2 separate regions of the Homo sapiens genome follow, and region 1 is linked to region 2. Evidence: promoter capture Hi-C in 16 types of primary human blood cells and fetal thymus (Javierre and others, 2016). All regions are on one chromosome and are shown on one strand. The core of a region is centred on a gene start or on the middle of the fragment in contact, and the rest is flanking DNA. Distances in the headings are between cores, read along the strand shown.

The links. The method cuts DNA at HindIII sites, captures the fragments that hold promoters and counts their contacts. A CHiCAGO score of 5 or more calls a contact.
Region 1: a contact is called between a fragment that was not itself captured here and the fragment with the promoter of AFAP1L1 in region 2, in 1 of 17 cell types (M1 macrophages). The highest score is 5.1, in M1 macrophages.

The regions. Positions count from the first base shown.
Region 1 is chr5:148,795,610-148,798,488 of GRCh38, reverse strand. No RefSeq gene overlaps it. Among named protein-coding and RNA genes, the nearest start is that of ADRB2, 30 kb to the left of the region's middle. The HindIII fragment of the contact is 2,541 bases long and covers 332-2,872 here.
Region 2 is chr5:149,270,461-149,273,160 of GRCh38, reverse strand. It overlaps AFAP1L1 (actin filament associated protein 1 like 1), which reads right to left and starts at 1,302. Exons shown (of 19, transcript NM_152406.4): 1 at 1,177-1,302. The coding sequence starts at 1,192. RefSeq lists enhancers at 1-241, 242-783, 784-1,323. The HindIII fragment of the contact is 5,831 bases long and covers 1-2,700 here.

The sequences.
Region 1 (2,879 bases), core at 353-2,852, 470 kb after region 2:
CAGGATCAGGGTGAGGAGAGTGAGTAAAGTCATAGAGTAAGTGCAGAGTTGGATTTCATGACATGAGAACTCTTTAGTTTAAATTGCACTTTCACTTATATCTTACTTGATTTCCACAGTAACCAACCCCATGAGCAGCCCTCCTTTTCCCTATTTCACAGGTGAAAAGGAATCCAAAGTAGTTATAAGCCTTTTTCAAGTTTATAGTACACTAACACTAAGCTACCATGAGCCCTCTTTCCAGGTCACTAGATGGATTGCCAACGTGTTAATGAAAAACACCAGTCCCTTGATCCACACTTTTTTCAACAGAAATACATAAGCACAAGCTTCTAATGAGGGTGTCTCAAAACTAAACAATAGTTAGATATTGCCTGCTTGACACTGAATTCTCTTTCCTCAGAAAGAAGACTTCCTAACATCTTGCCAAATCATTAACTTTGCTCTTAAGTCCGTTTGTTAAAATCTGGTTGCTTATAACAAGACACTTGGCTTCTACTGTTTATGGTATTGGGATATTCTTTGGCTTCAAGTAGGAAAATAATCAGAAACATATAAAGCTCAAAAGAACCTTGTAGACTATTTTGATTTCACCCCAGCTAGTGGAGATTAGGAAGCCTGTCTGTGTCTAATTGGGAAGTGATTTACCCAAGGTTACATAGTTAGTAAATGGCAGAGGTAGTATCAGGAAGGAAATCTCCTGATCTCTAGCTACAATTCTAATTAGCATCATGGAATTTGTGCAATTAATTTGTGCTTCCAAATCATAGAGTTCACCCACATATTTTTACATTTGGGGAAACGGAGGTCCAGAAAGGGGAAATAACTGAAAAATGTATAGGTAATTAATAGTACAGCTTAGACGAGGGCTCAGGTGTCGTTACTCTCAGCCATGAAGCTGATCCCATACTCTACTCTGCCCCACCAGAATCCACACTAAAAGGCCAGGAATAGGGTGGGGTTAGTTTGTAGCCAAGTGCAAAATCTAAGGGGTGGCGAAGATAAATAATATCTTAATGTAATATTTTAAAAACCAAAACCAATACATAACCTCCATAATGAATAACATTTTAATAAAGACAGGATCCAACTCTGCACTTATCGTGTGACCTACTCCCTCTCCTCACCCTAATCTTGGCCCTGTCAGGTCCTATATTTATTTAAAACTTTGACATTTTGCTCATCATGGATATTTTTGCATTAATTTTTGTCCCCAAGGCAGGTATGTTACTTACCTCACCCTAACTCCAGCCTTGACTGGGGCCTCCAGTGTCCAGGCCTGGGGAGAACTTATCAGTAAGGTGCCAGGGATGGGCAGATTGCTCACAAGGAGCTACAGGCAAGAGACCTGGCAGTGCTTATGACTAATGGGGCTGATCACATGGACACAAGAGTCCTCCAGCTGGGTCCTGAGGCCATGGAGGAATAGCAACTAAAAAACTGAATGTGACTGAGTAGTAATTACAAAATAGTATTTAAAATATAAGCTCATTTTTATAAATATATACCTGTGTTATCTCTGGATAGTGGTATGATAAATTTTGCACACGCCCCCCCTTTTATTTGCTTCTTTGTATTTTCTGATTTTTCTACAACGTACATGTATGACACATTTTCTTTTCTTTTTTTTTTTTTTTTTTTTTTTTTTTGAGACAGAGTCTTACTCTGTCATGCAGGCCGGAGTGCAGCAGTGCAATCTCCACTCACTGCAACATCTGCCTCCCGGGCTCAAGCCATGCTCCCACCTCAGCCTCCCAAGAAGCTGGGACTACAGGTGTGCACCACCACACCTGGCTAATTTTTGTATTTTTGTAGAGATGGGGTTTCACCATGTTGCCCAGGCTAGTCTCAAACTTCTGGGCTCAAACAATCCACCTGCCTCAGCCTTCCGAAGTGCTGGGATTACAGACGTGAGTCACCATGCCCGGCCAACATAACATTTTTAAAAAGTCTATCATAAAAATATGTATGGATATATCCAACAAATTCTCTTTTGAAAATACTTTGGTCTAATGTCAAAAACAAACTAATATCAGGGGCTGTTATACTTTTTTTTGTTTGTTTTTAGGAAATAACATTTTGTGGAATCTTGGTCAGGTCATTTTCATTTTGCCCAAATTTTCTTACTCCACGTTGCTTTGCTAAGCCCTGTGAATTTATTCATTCATTAATTCATTCACTTACTCATTTGTTCTTCTTAAGAACATCTGTTGAACAGATATTATGTCCCAGATACCGGACTACAATTAATGCTGCAATGTGAATGCATTATAAGTGCTTGGGCCCCCTATTCATTCTCAATTTCTGCAGCAAACTTAAACCTATCTCCAGAGCTCCTGGCCTTGCAGTCATCATTCATTTTTCATAGCCACTCCACAGACATTTTTCATAGTTGCTGCTGATGACACCTCCACCTCCCCAAAACTCTTTTCTCTAACTCCCACCCCATCGGTTCTTTGATTTTATTCCTTCCTCTACATTTCCACAACCACAGCCTTGGTGCATGCACTAGACATTTCGTTCTACAGGTCACCTAATCTAGCAATCTCCAGGCTTTTCTTTACCATGTATCCCTTCTTATAACATTTTTGAACATCCAAGCCAAGTATATATATTTATAAATCATACTAATGTGTCACTTTTAACCCATGTAATACATGTAAATATTAGAATATTAATTTCTTTATGATTTTTGAAACAATATAAATATAAATAGACAACATAATTTTTCCTTCCCACACTGTAGATAAATCATCTTACAGAATCCCTAGAATGTTTGGATTCTACCTCTACTTTATCAGTTCCAAACAGGACAGCAAAAGTGACCTTCTCATGTAATTATCTGTTATGAATTTTATCAAACTGGTAAGCTTACATTG
Region 2 (2,700 bases), core at 53-2,552:
TCTTTGGATCCCAGAGGTGCAGACTGAAACCCTGGGGTTCTGATTCCCAGCCTCTGACACTGTTCACATGTCCAAGCAGGCCACTTCTTTACAGACACACACATGCCCATCTGGCCATTGCCAAAGGCCATGTCTAGACCTTTACTTAAAATGTGCGCTGCCGGGCGCGGTGGCTCACGCCCGTAATCCCAGCACTTTGAGAGGCCGGGGCCGGCTGATCACCTGAGGTCAGGAGCTCCAGACCAGCCTGGCCAATATGGTGAAACCCCGTCTCTGTTAAAAATACAAAAATTAGCCGGGTGTGGTGGCGCATGCCTCTAATCCCAGCTATTCGGGAGGCTGAGGTAGGAGAATCGCTTGAACCCGGGAGGCGGAGGTTGCAGTGAGCCAAGATCGCGCCACTTCACTCCAGCCTGGGCAACAAGAGCGAAACTCCGTCTCAAACAAAACAAAACAAACAGAAAAAAATGTGCGCTAGCCCCCTACGAATGCTGCCCTCTCGGCTTATGTCAATCTCAATTTCAGTAAGTCCCCTCCACTTCTGTGAAACGTCTACCAAATACACTGGAAAAGGGTCGGCAAGGTGCCTTGGAGACCATCTAGTCCAACTTTGTCGCTGGTCCAGAGAGAAGGGCTGGGCCGAGGACACAGCTGGTGCGGGATAGAACCACCCCCGCCTCCTCCCTCCCTGGCGCACACATGCATGCACACGCGCGCCTGCTCACGGCGCTCCTCCTTCTCGCAATGCCCTAGGCAGCTGCAAACTTCGGTCCCCTAGAGCTTCTCCCTAGGGGCTGCCCACAGCGGGTGTTTCGGGAGTTGAACCTGTACACCTTGTTTTCCCCTTTAGAGTGGAATGAGGTGGGAGGAGCTCGCTGTCCTCCGGAAACTAGAGGGGGATCTTTTATGAAGTTACAAATCGTTAGCCTATGAAAACTCTGATTTCACACACGAGAGGCGAGTTGGCCCCAGGACACGGGCGTTGACACGCACCGGGTTGTCCCGGCAGCCGAAGGCACCTTTGCATAAGCGCCGCGTCTCCCAGTCCCCTCCGAGCGTTCCTCAGCCCCCGCCCCACCGCCCGCCTCTCTCCCTCCTCCTCTCCGGCTTCAGATCGTCCAGTCTCCCTTTCCCGCCCGGCGCCGCAACAAGTGCGGGCGTCGCGGCCCCTCTTACCCTGGCCTCGGTCCATGGCGCCGGCCCGGTCCCCGGGGAGCGGGCCGCAGGGCGCAGGGGCTCCGGCGCGGCTGGTAGCGGCCGGCGCGCTGCGCTCTCAGGCCAGCCCAGCGGCCGGCGCTCTCTGCGGTCCCCTCCCCCAGACAGGATGCTCGCCGGCAGCCCCCGCCCCGCCCGCGCCCGCGCCCGCCCCTCAGAGCCGCTCCCGGAATAGACCCGAGCACGCCTCGCCCCCTGGGCCGCAGCCCGCTGTCCCGTGGTGCCGCACACGCCCCGCCGCGCCCTGCCGCTCGCTCGCCCTCCGCGGCGCTCCCACTTGGGCTTGGAGGACCCTTTTCCCCGTCCGCACGCGTTCGTTCCCGCGCCCGCGCGGCCTGCCCCAGCCCGGACCCAGGAGGTGTGCGGCTTTGCTTGCACTCCGCTAGCGATGGGGTCTTACCACCGCACCCCTCAGCCGGCTCCATGCCGGAATGCGGAGACTGTTGGAGCGCGTTTTTATCCTAGGGAATCAAAACCCCCTTCCCTGCAGCCGCCACCCATTTCCTGGCTTTGGGCTTGTCTTCTCCATTCGCCGCGGGTCTTTCTTGAGCACCTTCTAAGCCAGACAGTGGGCCCGCGGCGATGCCGGTGCAATGTCAGTGGTGTTGCGAAAGAGGAGTTAAATAATAACAAAGATCTTCAGAAAGAAAAGCACCTGGGAAAGGGAGAAAGAGAGGCTTGCTGAAAGGTGGGCAAGGGCTTGGGACACTTTCAACTTTTGAGGTTCCTTGTGTACTAAAACGTGAAAACATAACGAGGATCTGGGAGAATTCAGAAAAAGAATAGAAAAATGAGTAACACGTGAAAACATGCAGAACAGGGTGATAAAAAATGTGGAAATGAATACTTTTAGCATACAAAATACAGTGCAATATAAGTGTACTTTTCGCAAGATTGTAGAAAATATTGCTATGACCAGTGTGGAACAGTAATGGGATCTAAGTTTAAAGCTGTATGAAGAATGTCAACTTCTTCACCTTATTAGTATATCCCTGTGAAAATAGGTCTCACTCATTTATACACAATATCAAATGTCTGACTTTAAGACCCTTCATAAAGTCCAGGACCAATTGTTCTCCTAGACACTGCTCCTCCCACCATGGGCCAGGCCATGGTTTTCAGCTTTGAGCTGACCACTGTTCCCTACTTAGAACATTCTGGAACAGGGAACAGCTACCACAGAGGTATGGAGGCAACAAAAGGCCTGGGAAAGACCCTCCTGTACTTTCCTGGACTGGGAATATTTTCTTTTCTTCTTTTTTTTTTTTCTTGAAAAGTCTCCCTTTGTCGCCGAGGCTGGAGTGCAGTGGCGCGATCTCGGCTCACTGCAACCTCTGCCTCCCGGGTTCAAGCAATTCTCCTGCCTCAGCCTCCTGAGTAGCTGGAATTACAGGCGCCCACCATCACTCCGGGCAAATTTTTGTATTTTTAGTAGAGACGACGTTTCGCCATGTTGGCCAGGCTGGTCTCGAACTCCTGACCTCA